Regions from separate parts of the Homo sapiens genome. Here region 2 is linked to region 1. The links are contacts of gene promoters, found by promoter capture Hi-C in human tissues and cell types (Jung and others, 2019). All regions are on one chromosome and are shown on one strand. The core of a region is centred on a gene start or on the middle of the fragment in contact, and the rest is flanking DNA. Distances in the headings are between cores, read along the strand shown. Region 1 holds the start of CNPY2 (canopy FGF signaling regulator 2). Region 2 has its middle 4.1 kb from the start of LRP1.

Evidence for each region. Contacts are between HindIII fragments. The study calls those that stand out against the background at their distance.
Region 2: a contact is called between a fragment that was not itself captured here and the fragment with the promoter of CNPY2 in region 1, in 1 of the 25 tissues and cell types used here (hippocampus).

The regions. Positions count from the first base shown.
Region 1 is chr12:56,310,605-56,318,070 of GRCh38, reverse strand. CNPY2 (canopy FGF signaling regulator 2) reads left to right here and starts at 2,083. Exons shown (of 6, transcript NM_014255.7): 1 at 2,083-2,250; 2 at 2,829-2,941; 3 at 3,105-3,220; 4 at 6,657-6,860; 5 at 7,017-7,113. The coding sequence starts at 2,854. It overlaps PAN2 (poly(A) specific ribonuclease subunit PAN2), which reads left to right. Exons shown (of 26, transcript NM_014871.6): 26 at 428-1,135. The coding sequence ends at 462. CNPY2-AS1 (CNPY2 antisense RNA 1) reads right to left here and starts at 6,657. Exons shown (of 2, transcript XR_002957416.2): 1 at 5,572-6,657; 2 at 3,263-3,542. RefSeq lists enhancers at 1,730-1,879, 1,960-2,009, 1,510-2,098. The HindIII fragment of the contact is 7,285 bases long and covers 1-7,117 here.
Region 2 is chr12:57,120,759-57,127,967 of GRCh38, reverse strand. No RefSeq gene overlaps it. Among named protein-coding and RNA genes, the nearest start is that of LRP1, 4.1 kb to the left of the region's middle. RefSeq lists an enhancer at 1-478. The HindIII fragment of the contact is 3,004 bases long and covers 427-3,430 here.

The sequences.
Region 1 (7,466 bases), core at 834-3,333:
CAAGTACCTGGGACAACAGGCACACACCACCACACCCAGCTAATTTTTGTACTTTTTGTAGAAACAGGATTTTGCCATGTTGCCCAGGCTGGTCTTAAACTCCTGGGCTCAAGCGATCCACCCACCTTGGGCTCACAAAGTGCTGGGATTACAGGCATGAGCCTGAGCGCCCCCAATTGGGTGGATTTTGATTGCACATATGGAGAATAGCACTTAACAGTTTACAAAGCACTTCATCCTCCTAACATTCAGTAAAATACATTTTATCGAAACTCTCCATTAACTATAACTTCCTCTTGCCCAAGTCTAAAATGTTCAGGGAAGGTCCATGCCCTTTTTTCTCTTGCATTTTTCCTTCATAGGAAGTATGAGAAGATGCTTTTTCTCCACTCAGCTTGAATCATGCTTTTGGTTTTGTCTCTGACAGATGCAGCTGTCTTCTCCTCAGTGCTGGCGCTCTGACTACCCTTCCCAAAGAACCACGGCCCTCTCCCTTTACTGTTCTATAGCCCCAGAACTGGGAGATGGCTTCCTAAGTTGGCTATACCTTGTCCACTTCCAGTACTGGACGTGCTCAGGGTCTAGGGTCACAGATGGTGCTATTAATTGAACTGGAACACAGCAGAATTGTTGCAAAGGTTCTAGGAGCCAGATTCATTCCTTCTTCATTCTTTGCAAAACAGTGGTACAGACATGGAGTCTAGAATTGACCCAGATGGAAAGTAATTGGTATTCTTAATATCCTGGGTGACTAATATCCAGGCAGAGAAGCTCCTGGAACCATAACTGTAAGTTCCTAGCTGGCTAGGGATTGAAGTCCTGGACAGTGACAGAGGATACCACAGTAGTTCAAGACTTAGCACAAGTCACCAACTGCTTCAGGGATACCTGGAGGGGCCAGCAAGTAGAGTGTTGGTGGCCCAAGCAAACCAGTGTTGCCAATACCATTGCCAAAAGGGCCTTTGGATCCTGGACAAAGCTTGGCTGCCGGCTTCATTTATTCCTGCTGATGGCTGAGAAGCATCTGTCTTCCATCCCACTTGCCTGTCCCAAGTTTTGTTCCATTTTTTAAAAATTTGTTGTAAACTGCATGTTTTATAAAATAAAAATAAAATATCGTTTGTTATTTATCTCATTAGAGAACTGCTAGTGTGGGTTCTCTGGCTTCAGTCTTCCTCTCCTTCCTTTGAAGGTAAAGGTCCGGAATCCAAAGTTATGGATATGAAAGGGTATAATTAGGCCGGGCGCGGTGGCTCACTTCTGTAATCCTAGCACTTTGGGAGGCAGAGGTGGGTGGAACACGAGGTCAGGAGTTAAAGACCAGCCTGACCAAGATGGTGAAACCCCGTCTCTACTAAAAATACAAAAATTAGCTGGGAGTGGTGGATGGCGACTGTAACCCTAGCTGAGGCAGAAAATTGCTTCAACCCGGGAGGCGGAGGTTGCAGTGAGCCGAGATCACGCCACTGTATGCCAGCCTGGGCGATAGGGCGAGACTCCGTCTCAAAAAAAGGGGAAAAAGGTATAATTTATGCCTTTTCTGGGCAATGCTGGGTCTTTGCTATAGCTGCCCAGTACCCTAAGTCAGACTGAAGATGTACAGTATGGTTTCCGTTAATTGTGTAAGCCGACAAACTACAGGTCCCAGGATAGCTTGAGACTTGTAGTTGCTCACAAAGATGGGTCCGGTGCTGCGGTGCTTCCTGGGAGATGTAGTTTCCTGTGTATTGAAACCTGGACTGCTCGCTGGCCGGCAGCGCACCGTTTTGAAGGTCCTAGCCCACCTGGGCTGGCTCACGCGCACGACTAGCCGCTCCCATACAGCACGCCCGGACTCTGTCGTCGCTTAAGGCCACTCCTATTCTACGGCTGACCCCTGGTGGTCACGTGGATCTGTTCGCCACGCAAGTCTGGGTCCTTCGGCGATTGACCGGGGTCCTTGCTGTTCGGGAGCCTCTCCTAAGCTGCCTGTTCGCGCGAGAGTTTGGAGGGGCGGGTTTGGGGTCGGTGTCTGATTGGGGCTCGCACCGCAGCACGCTGGAGTCCCGCTTAGGTACCAGTTAGCGTCAGGGGAGCTGGGTCAGGCGGTCGCCGGGACACCCCGTGTGTGGCAGGCGGCGAAGCGCTCTGGAGAATCCCGGACAGCCCTGCTCCCTGCAGCCAGGTGTAGTTTCGGGAGCCACTGGGGCCAAAGTGAGAGTCCAGCGGTCTTCCAGCGCTTGGGCCACGGCGGCGGCCCTGGGAGCAGAGGTGGGACGGATGCGGGCGGCGAGGCGCTGGGCGCTGAGGGTTGGGGATGGACTGAAGCGAAAGCAATGGCGGAGTCCTTAGAAAGGGGGCTGGTGTCCGTACGGGTAATCACTTACGGGCTGGAGGTGGGGACGCAGGAATCTTCGGTGCAGGATCCAAATGGGCCCTAGTTATTGCTCTCCTCGCTGGCCTCCTGGCCTGACTGAGGGCTCCCTGCCGGCAGTTCCCTAGTGCCTGTAGTCCTCACGTAATCGCCAACTTACCTCCTGTAGCTGCCACAAAGCCCCGTGAACCCTAGGCATGCAGTGCTAAAGTACCAACACTTAGGGCCTCACCTATCCACGTAGAGTCTGGGGCTGAGCCGCAAGTCCTGAGCTCGCGCTCCCACCCACCACCCTGGGGGAATCAGAGCCCTCAAGCGCTGGAACAGAGAAGCCCCTTTGTGTCCCGGCCATTTCCTGGAAAGTAGAGCCAGAGTCACAATGAGGCCTTTGAAAGCCTTGGGGTGAGGATTGGGGGGGTCAGGGAAAAATGGAGTCGGCTCCTCACACTTATGTTTTATTCCCACTCAAACCCAGGTGGAGCGACCCCATTACGCTAAAGATGAAAGGCTGGGGTTGGCTGGCCCTGCTTCTGGGGGCCCTGCTGGGAACCGCCTGGGCTCGGAGGAGCCAGGATCTCCACTGTGGAGGTAAAGGCACAACGGGAAAAAGAAGTGGAGGAAGCAGAGCCTTGGGAGGGCATGAGATCCAAGGCCTGGGAGAAGGATGAATGGAAATCCTGGGTTGATCCCATTCTCCTCACACCCTACCCCCTACCCTGTCCCCTGCTCTCATTCTCTCCTCTTCCACCAGCATGCAGGGCTCTGGTGGATGAACTAGAATGGGAAATTGCCCAGGTGGACCCCAAGAAGACCATTCAGATGGGATCTTTCCGGATCAATCCAGATGGCAGCCAGTCAGTGGTGGAGGTAACTGTTACTGTTCCCCCAAACAAAGTAGCTCACTCTGGCTTTGGATGAAATTCGACTGCTTAAAAAGGACCTTGGTTTAATAGAAATGAAGAAAACAGACTCAGAAAAAAGATTTGGCTCTGTCTCATTTGGAAGAAGCTGCAGGCTTATTCCCCATGCACTTGCTTCCTGGCTGCAAACCTTAATACTTTGTTTCTGCTGTAGAATTTGTTAGCAAACAGGGAGTCCTGATCAGCACCCTTCTCCACATCCACATGACTGGTTTTTAATGTAGCACTGTGGTATACATGCAAACATCCGTTCAAAATCTGAGTCGGAGCTAAAAATAAAAAATGAAAAAACAGAAATAAGAATAAAAGGTCTTATCCTCATAATTAGGAAATTTTAATCGAAAACAACACACATGTACACAAAGGTGTATCTAATAAGCAATATATAAGGCAGTGTTAAGATTACAGTGCTAGCCTGGGCATCATGGCAAAACACCAACTCTACAAAAAAATGCAAAAGTTAGCAGTGCATGGTGGCATGTGCCTGTAGTGACAGCTGCTTGGAAGGCTGAGGTGGGAGGATCACTTGAGCCCAGGAGGTCGAGGCTGCAGTAAGCCGTGATTGTGCCACTGCACTCCAGCCTGGGAAACACAGCAAGACCCTGTCTCAAAAAAAAACCAAAACCCAGCACTTTGGGAGGCCAAGGCAGGCGGATCACCTGAGGTTAGAAGTTCGAGACCAGCCTGGCCAACATGGTGAAACTCCGTCTCTACTAAAAATACAAAAAAGTAGCCAGGCGTGGTGGCTCATGCCTATAGTCCCAGCTACTCAGGAGGCTGAGGCAGGAGAATCACTTGAACCCAGGAGGCAGAGGTTGCAGTGAGCCAAGATCGCACCACTGCACTCCAGTCTGGTTGACAAGAACAAAACTCTGTCTTGAAAAAAAAAAAAGGCCGGGCGCGGTGGCTCACGCCCGTAATGCCAGCACTTTGGGAGGCTGAGGTGGGCAGATCACAAGGTCAGGAGATCGAAACCATCCTGGCTAACATGGTGAAACCCCGTCTCTACTAAAAATACAAAAAATTAGCCGGGCGTGGTGGTGGGTGCCTGTAGTCCCAGCTACTCAGGAGGCTGAGACGAAAAGAATGGCGTGAACTCGGGAGGCAGAGCTTGCAGTGAGCTGAGATGGTGCCACTGCACTCTAGCCTGGGCGACACAGCGAGACTCCTCTCAAAAAAAAAAAAAGAAAAGAAAAAAGATTATGGTACTTTAATAGCTGTTGTTCACAGAGCCTACACTACATCTTTAATACTGTGCTTACTGAGGATATTAGTCTCAATTTAAACAAAATTATTATTATTTTTTTGAGATGGAGTTTAGGGCTTGTTGCCCAGGCTGGAGTGCAATGACACGATCTCGGCTCACCGCAACCTCTGCCTCCCGGGTTCAAGCGATTCTCCTGCCTCAGCCTCCCGAGTAGCTGGGATTACAGGCATGCACCACCACACCTGGATAATTTTGTATTTTTAGTAGAGACAGGGTTTCTCCATGTTGGTCAGGATGGTCTCGAACTCCTGACCTCAAGTGAGCCACCCTCCTCGGCCTCTCAAAGTGCTGGGATTACAGGCGTGAGCCACCACGCCCGGCCAAAAATAAAATATTAATGAACACATGGACACAGGGAGGGGAACGTCACACATCAGGTCCTGTTGGGGTGTTGGGGGCTAGGGGAGGGATAGCATTAGGAGAAATACCTAATGTAGATGACAGGTTGATGGGTGTAGCAAACCACCATGGCACATGTATACCTATGCAACAAACCTGCACGTTCTGCACATGTATCTCAGAACTTAAACTATAATTTAAAAAAAAATTATCTTCATCTATAGAAATTAGAAGTATAAGTTGATCAGGTTAATCAAAAAATTCTGTTTATAACTTGGAGCTAATGTTAACTGTCTTGTTTCTTAGAATTGTACAATGAGGTGCCGGGCACGGTGGTTCATGCCTGTAGTCCCAGCACTTTGGGAGGCTGAGGCGGGTGGATTACCTGAAGTTGGGAGTTTGAGACCAGCCTGACCAACATGGAGAAACCCCGTCTCTACTAAAAATACAAAATTAGCTGGGCGTGGTGGCACATGCCTGTAATCCCAACTACTCGGGAAGCTGAGGCAGGAGAATCACTTGAACCCGGGAGGTGGAGCTTGCGGTGAGCCGAGATCGCGCCATTGCACTCCAGCCTGGGCAACAAGAGTGAAACTCCATCTCAAAAAAAAAAAGAAAAAAAAAAAGAATTGTACAATGAGGTAAAATAAAATCATATAGTTGAAACTACTGCCAAGTACAGTGGCTCATACCTGTAATCCCAGCACTCTTGGAGGCCAAGGCAGGCAGATCACTTGAGCACAGGAGTTCGAGACCAGCCTGGGCAACATGGCAAGACCCCGTCTCTACAAAAAAAATATAAAAAAGTAGCTGGGTGTGGTGGTGTGCATCTGTGTGAGGCTGAGATGGGAGGATCACCTAAGCCTGGGAGATCCAAGCTGTAGTGAGCCTCAGTCATCACACCACTGCACTCCAGCCTGGGCAACGGAGTGAGGCCTGTCTCAAAAAAAAAAAAAAAAAAAAAAAAAAGAAGTACTTTGAAACTATCAAGTAAACCATATTAATTTAAAACCAGGCCGGGCGCGGTGGCTCATGCCTGTAATCCCAGCACCTGGGGAGGCCAAGGTGGGCGGATCACTAGGTCAGGAGATCGAGACCATCCTGGCTAGCACGGTGAAACCCGTCTCTACTAAAAATACAAAAAATTAGCTGGGCGTGGTGGTGGGCGCCTGTAGTCCCAGCTACCCGGGAGGCTGAGGCAGGAGAATGGTGTGAACCCTGGAGGCGGAGCTTGCACTGAGCCAAGATAGTGCCACTGCGTCCGGCCTGGGCGAAAGAGTGAGACTCCGTCTCAAAAAAATAAATAAATAAATAAAATAAAATAAATGAAAACCACACTAGGCCAGGCACAGTGGCTCACGTCTGTAATCCCAGCACTTTGGGATGCCGAGGCAGGCAGATCACCTGAGGTCTGGAGTTTGAGACCAGCCCGACCAACACAGAGAAACCCCATCTCTACTAAAAATACAAAAGTTAGCTGGGTGTGGTGGTGCATGCCTGTAGTCCCAGCTACTCAGGAGGCTGAGGCAGGAGAATCACTTGAACCCAGGAGGCAGAGGTTGCAATAAGCCGAGATGGCGCCAATGCACTCCAGCCTGGGCAACAAGAGCAAAACCCCATCTCAAAAAACAAACAAACAAACAAAACTAATTAAAATCAATTAGGGAAAGCTTTTTAGAATAGGTTGTTGGAGCTAGATTTGGAAAGAAAAGTAAGGATATAAATTACTAATGTACAGAGGTAGAAGAGAGTGACCCAAGGCTGAGGACATTTCTAGGTGCCTTATGCCCGCTCAGAGGCCCACCTCACAGAGCTGCTGGAGGAGATATGTGACCGGATGAAGGAGTATGGGGAACAGATTGATCCTTCCACCCATCGCAAGAACTACGTACGTGTAGTGGGCCGGAATGGAGAATCCAGTGAACTGGACCTACAAGGCATCCGAATCGACTCAGATATTAGCGGCACCCTCAAGTTTGCGGTGAGCTATGGGAATCGGTAGCTGGTTCTTGGACATTAAGGGGTTGTTGGAGAACCAATTAGAAAGTTAGGCTGATATCCTTGTCCTCCTCTTTGGAAGTGAAGGCAAGAGGCCTCTTATTGCCCTGTGTCACCCATTTCTCCCTTGGGTTGGCAGTGTGAGAGCATTGTGGAGGAATACGAGGATGAACTCATTGAATTCTTTTCCCGAGAGGCTGACAATGTTAAAGACAAACTTTGCAGTAAGCGAACAGGTAAGCTGCCCCCACTTTATCTCCTGTTCTAGTAGCTCTGTGGAACCTGACATTCCCTAACTCACCCATACACCCCCATCCCAGAAACCTCTGGTATTAGGTCAAGAGCTGTCTTCCATTTCCCTTGGCTTAGGGACTTGGGGTGTTCCTCCACATTTTCTGTCAGCTTTCAGAATTTGTGTCCCCTTGACCCTGAGATACAGGTGAGAGGACAGTGGGGATGTTTTATCATTTATAAGCATATATTCTGCAGAATGGTGGTTGGTGTGTGTTTGTGTCAGCTTGGTCTGGGAAATTTTCTTGATACTGGCAGATATCAGTATGAGAATGGCATATTCCTTTAAATTGTTTGC
Region 2 (7,209 bases), core at 679-3,178, 810 kb before region 1:
CTGAGCTTTGATTTGGAGACTTTGGAAGACCGGACTGGGATTGGGGCCTGCGAAGGAGGGGGCGGGGTTGGGGAGGGACCGCGAGGACCCGCCCCCACCTCGCTCCCGGGCTCGGAGTAAACAGGGACACCCGAGGGGACACGCCGGAGCTTGTCCGCCCGCGTGGGGCTCGGGGATGGAGCCCACCTTAGTACCCGCCCGCCCTGCTCGCCCAGCCCTAGGCGCGGGAGGGGCAGGCCCTGGTTTGGAGGGAGGTGAGTCACCAGCGGGTGGGGTTGAGGAAAGGCCACCCCCTTTCGCCCAAGAAGTCGGGGCTCATTTATTTTTCTGTTTTTTTTTTTTTTTTTTTTTTTAATACCTTCTGACTGGCTTGCCATCAAGTTAGGGTTTTAGATTCCGAGCGCCAGGATTTGGAATAAGATGAGGGACTCTGGACCTTCGTTTCCAGGCCTCGGGTTCCAAGGAGGTGTCTGCTGAGCGCCGGACCTTTGTCCCCAGGCTCAGCCCACACGGGAATGATACTTTGCAGAAGGCAGGCGCCAGGCGGTTCCCAGGGGCCAGTGAACGTGCTTTTGGTCACTGCCCCCTTCTGGGCGGCGTTTTATGGCTGTTACCTTAGTGTCTGACTTTCTAGGTGTCTGCATGTCAGAGTTCAAGGAGCGGGGCAGACGACGTCGGCTGCCAAAAATTGACGCTGGAGAGGAGGGACTGTTCCCCCTTTTACGTTCTAGTTACGGAAAAGTCCCCACTCCAGTCTGTCCTTGGCAGAAACAGGAGCAGCACGAAGGACTTGCCTCCTAATGACAGTGAGCTCAACCTTTAGCTTCTTCCAGCCGGCTTTGCTCAGCGCGGTGGCCACCTGCCTTTAGTCTCCTGGGCTAGAAACCTCAGACTTTATGCCAACTCAAGGGGGCCTTTCCTTCCTATATCCAATCTTGCCAGCCTGTGCTCCAGGCTTGTCATTTTTTTCCTCTGAAGTATATCTCAGATTTCCTCCATTTCCACTGCCAGAGAGTTGCTCCAGGCAGGAACGGGGTCTTATTTCTCCTTTTATCCAGCTCCCATGGCCCAACACAATGTGAGACGCACTATGCGGACTCACCAAATGCCTACGAGGTTCCTCCCAGGGCCCCTCCCAGTATTGGGATCCAAGTGAAATCAGGTCGAAACAGACTTTAGACAGCTTGACAGCTTTGAGAGGAAAACGGTATCTGGAGCAACCACATGTAGCCTGAGGGCTTGAAGGGGCTTTCCTCCCTCCCCCTACCCATCTGTCAGGTGAATCTTCCAAAAACTGCTTTCCCGGTGTCTCTTCCTTGCTGGGGAACCTCTAGTGGGTGTCTATAGACCAGTCAAATGTGAACTCCTCTTCAGTCATGGCTTTCCAAAACCTGGCCTCAGTCAGCATGCACTTCTCACTTGCAACCTCCCATCCCCTGCTGTCTCCTGAATGTGAATGTGTATTTTTATTAACTTTATATTGTTAAAAAAAAAAGAAAGAAAGAAAAGATAATACCTAGTGGTTAAAAAAAGTACAGGAAGGTAAAAAGTAAAAGGAAACTTGATGCTCTCCACACCCCCATTTTTCAGCTGCACCCTCAGAGTAACTTCTACTAACAGTTCTTCAGGTCTCCCCTACCAGCAGAGGTTTCCCCCCCGCCCAAGACGGAGTCTTGCCCCGTTGCCCAGGTTGGAGTGCAGTGGCCTAATCTCGGCTCACTACAACCTCTGCCTCCCGGGTTCGGCGATTCTTCTGCCTTGACCTCCCAAGTAGCTGGGATTACAGGCACACGCCACTATACCCAGCTAATTTTTTTTGTATTTTTGGTAGAGATGGGGTTTCACGATGTTGGCTAGGCTGGTCTCGAACTTCTGACCACGTGATCTGGCCTCCTCAGCCTCCCAAAGTGCTGGGATTACAGGCGTGAGCCACCGTGCCCGGCCAGGAGAGTTTTTAAAACAGTAACATACAGGCCAGGCGTGGTGGCTCATGCCTGTAATCCCAACACTTTGGGAGACGAAGGTGGGAGGATCACTTTTCAGGAGTTCGAGACCACACTGGCCAACATGGCGGAACCCCATATCTACTAAAAATACAAAAATGAGCCACGTATCGTGACGCATACCTGTAATCCCAGCTACTGGGGAGGCTGAGGCACGAGAATCGCTTGAACCCAGGAGGTGGAGGTTGTGGTGAGCCGAGATCGTGCCACTGCACTCCAGCCTGAGCAACAGAGGGAGACCCTGTCTCAAATAAATAAATAAATAAAACAGTAACATACAAATATAAGTGAATATCCTTTAAAACTATAAAGAAACTCATATGATATATAGTGTTCTGTAACTTGCCTTTTTTTCAATTAACTTAGCTTGATCCCTTTCCATACCGTATGAACGCATTTAGCTCACCCTTTGATCTTGGCTACTTGGAATCTCCTTGCTTGGATGTTCCACAGTTTGTTGGGATTGTTGGGCACTTGGGTTATTTCCAGCAGGTGAACTGCTGAGGGTATGTCTGTAAGGTGAGAGAATGCATATTTATGTCTTTCTTTCTTTCTTTCTTTCTTTTTTTTTTTTGAGATGGAGTTGCACTCTTGTTGCCCAGGCTGGAGTGCAGTGGTGTGATCTCAGCTCACTGCAACCTCCACCTCCCAGGTTCAAGCGATTCTCCTGCCTCAGCCTCCCGAATAGTTGAGATTACAGGCACCCACCACCATGCCTGGCTCATTTTTGTGTTTTTAGTAGAGATGGGATTTCTCCATGTTGGCCAGGCTGGTCTTAAACTCCTGACCTCAGGTGATCCATGCACCTTGGCCTCCCAAAGTGCTGTGATTACAGGTGTGAGCCACCTCACCCTGCTGAGAATGCATATTTCTATCTGAGCCATTAATGATACAGTTCCCCTGCTCCTCTACCCTCCTCAGAAAAGCCCTCCTGTTATTCTCGCTCTGCCTATCTCTCCTGTTCCAAACTTGTATTCAGGAAAGCTTCAGTATCCAGAGTTTAGCACTTTATTTTGTGGGCTCTGTATCCACCACTAGACTATATACTCCTTGAGGGCAGGGACCATGTCTTTTTCTTCTTCGTTTCCACCCAGCGTGAGAGGCTCTTGATTGGTGAAAGGAATGTTAGGACTAGAGTTGCCTTTCCTGGAACAGGATGTGACTTCAAGCATCTTCTTCCCTCTATTTCTCTTATAGCATTCATTGTTTAATCCTCTCTGCCTCAGTGCCTTCTCTTCCTCCCCACATCTGTTCTTAAGAGGCATCTTCAAATCCTTGGGTTGAGATTATAACCATAATAGTAGGGAATCATGGAGGAATTCTCTGAAATTCATGATTGATACCTGGAATGGTGATGAGGGCAAAGAAGCTAGTGTGGGTAAAGGGCATCTCTTTTTTCGGGTCGCTCAGCAAATTACAAAATACCCGCCTTTTCTGAGTATAGCAGGGCCTGGGCTGGGGCGTTAATTGGGTAGCTCTGGAACTGAATGTCAAGCCAGAGGCTAGCACCACCTAGTGGTCAGTTAAGGAAGTGTGCGTAGGAAGGGTATCCCGGAAAGGTCTGATGGCAGGCGGAGAGAGGGAAAAGGACCAGTATTTATTGAGCGCATACCATGTCCCAGGCCCACGCAGTGGACTTTATTTACAGTATCAGCTCACTTAAGTCTACCTTTTGTCATGGGTGTTATTTCCAGTGTGTATAAGAAAATAGAATGTTCTGAGAGATTAAAGAATCTGTCCCAAATAATGGTGCAGATCCAAGCCCAGATTTCATTCACTTAATAAAAATATTAGGTACCTCGTATAAGCAAGTACATTGCTAGGCACTAGGGATAAGAGACGGAAACACACAGTCTCAGCCTTCAAGAAGCTTTCAGGTTAGCTGGGTGCTCAACAAGAGACAGACAATGACAATACAGTCAGTTCCTTAACACCTGTGATGAAGGCATGTGCAGAAGGGCATGGGAACATGGGAAGGATACCTCTTCCAGACAAGGTGGTCAAGACAGAGAGCAGCAGATGATGCCAGGCTAAATGTTGAATGAGAGGAAGAAAATGACAACCAATAACAAAAGGAAAGGGTGTTTTAGGCTGGATGGCAGGAAAGGCATTGGAGGCATGAGAAGTTTAAAACATGTGAAGAACATCAAATATGGTATCATAGCTGAAGTTTAAGGTACTTTGAGGGGAGAGTGTTGGATGAAGTATCAGAAAGCCTAATCACAAAGCGTGATTTTAGCCACAGTAAGGACTTAGAATTTTTTTTCTAGAAGTAGTGTAGAGCCAGTTGAGAAATTGGTGAAGTCCTTAATGCATGAGTGATGGAGCTGGAGAGGAAGAGGATTCAGAAACAATAAAGAAGTAGGATCTAGTATACTAACCAGTTAACTGTATAGGCCTGAAGATAGTGACAGAGAAATCTGAGTCTAGAAAATTTGGCTCACATTAGAATCACCTGGAGAGTTTTTAAAAATCCCAGTGCTGTGGTGGCATGCATCTGTAGGCCCAGCTACTCAGGAGACTAAGGTGGGAGGATTGCTTGAGCTCAGGAGGTTGAGGCTGCAGTGAACCTGATCACTGCATGATCATGCCACTGCACTCCAGCCTGGGTAACAGAGTGCAACCCTGTCTCAAAAAGAAAAATAAATGAATCAATGCTGGAGGATTTATGCTACTTGATTTCAAGACTTGTAAGTGACAGTAATCAAGACTATGTGGTGCTAGCATGAGAATTGACAAACAGATCCATGGAGCAGAATAGAGAACCAGAAATAGACTCACAATCATTTGATTTTTTAATAAAAATTCTATATGCGTTTATTATTTTATAATGTTACTTTTATATACTTTTATCTTGGAATTATTTTTCGTTTGATTAGTTTTCTATGCATCTATCATTTTCCCCAAATATCTCAACATAATTTTAAAAAATCAGATAGTTGTTTGATTTCTTATTGCAATTCCTTTGTGTTTACCACCCCTCCACCCTGCTCATCCCTATCTCACCCTGTGCAACTTCTGCATTCTTGCTTCAATGTTGACTAGGCACAGGCTTCGTTTTTCTTTTTGAGACAGAGTTTTGCTCTGTTGCCCAGTCTGGAGTGCAGTGGTATGATCATAGCTCACTGCAGCCTCAACCTCCTGGGCTTAAACTATTTTCCCCTGTCAACTTCCCAAGTAGCTGGGACTACAGACACATGCCACCATGCCTGGCTTCAGCATCCATTCTTAAACTCCTTTTCACCATTGATCTGGGATTTTACTCTTAGCTGGAACCTGTCTGAGACCCGACTATTGGAGGTCTCTTACTGCTGGAGGATGGTATCTCTGGGAAAGGCCCACTCCCAGACCCAGGAATGTAGGATCCATCTCAGTGCAGCTTTTCTCAGCTCTCTACTTGTCTGGGGTACCACACTTCTCAACCGGATTCTGTACTTCTCATAAAGGTATTTTGATCAGTAAATTGTTAAATCTGTGTTTCTGTGAGGGGATGAGAGGCGGGACTTCGTATTGCACCAACTGGCTGATCCCACTGTAAAGGTCATTTGATTTTGGCAAAGATGTCAAAGCCAGCCAGTGGAGAAAGGAATGTCTGTTCAATAAATAGTTATGGAACAACTTCATATCTATATGGGAGAAATAAATGAACCTTGACCCCTACCTCACACCATATGCAAAAATTAATTCAAGATTGATTATAGGCTGGGCCCAGTGGCTCACACCTGTAATCCCAGCACTTTGGGAGGCTGAAGCAGTTGAATCACCAGAGGTCAGGAGTTCAAGACCAGCCTGCCCAACATGGTGAAACTCTGTTTCTACTAAAAATACACAATTAACAGGCCAGGCATGGTGGCTCACACCTGTAATCTCAGCACTTTGGGAGGACAAGGCGGGTGGATCATCTGAGCTCAGTTCAAGACCAGCCTGGCCAACATGGCAAAACACTGTCTCTACTAAAAATACAAAAATTAGCTGGGCATGGTGGTGCATGCCTGTAATCCTAGCTACTCAGGAGGCTGAGGCAGGATAATCGCTTGAACCTGAGAGGCGGAGGTTGCAGTGAGCTGAGATCACACCACTGCACTCCAGCCTGAGTGACAGCGAGACTCTGTGTCAAAAAAATTAATTAATTAAAAAAATAAAAATACAAAAATTAGCTGGGTGTGGTGGTGGGCACCTGTAATCCCAGCTACTCAAGAGGCTGAGGCAGGAGAATTGCTTGAACCCAGGAGGTGGAGGGTGGAGTGAGCCGAGATCGCGCCACTGCACTCCAGCCTGGGTGACAGAGCGAGACTCCGTCTAAAAAAAAAGATTGATTATAGACCTAAACCACAAATGCTAAAATCATAAAGCTTTTAGACAAAAACACAGAATATCTTCATAATTTGGAGGAAAGCAACCCCTTCTTAAGCTATAGAAAGCAATAACATAAATTTCTTGATAAGTGAAACATCAAAATAGAAAACTTTTGCTCGTCAGAAGACATCATTATGGAGTAATCCCAGCACTTTGGGAGGCTGACATAGAAGAACTGCTTGAGGCCAGGAGTTTGAGACCAGCCTGGCCAACAAAGCTAGACTCTGTCACTACAAAAAATTTAAAAAATTAGCCGAGTGTGATGGTGTGCACCTGTAGTCCCAGCTACTCCAGAGGCTGAGAAGAGAGGATTGCTTGAGCCCAGGAGTTAGAGGCTGCAGTGAGTTGATTGTGCCACTGCACTCCAGCCTGAGTGACAGTGAGACCCTGACTCAAAAAAAAAAGACATTATTATGAAAATGTGGAAGTAAGCCAAATAGATAGACAAAACATTGATCTGAGAAGGGACAGAGGAATGCGAGATATATTAAAAATTCCTATAACATAGTAATAAAATGACAACCCAATGAATGGACAATAAGCATATGAAAGGTACTCGAGGCTAGGTGCAGTGGTGCACGCCTGTAATCCCAGCACTTTGGGAGGCCAAGGTGGGAGGATCGCTTGAGGTCAGCAGTTTCAGACCAGCCTAGGCAATATATCGAGACCTCATCTCTACAAAAAGTCCGGGCGTGGTGACTCACGCCTGTAATCCCAGCACCTTGGAAGGCCGAGGCGGGCGGATCACGAGGTCAGGAGTTCAAGACCAGCCTGGCCAATGTGGCCATACCCTGTCTCTACTAAAAATACAAAAATTAGCTGAGCATGGTGGTGGGCACCTGTAATCCCA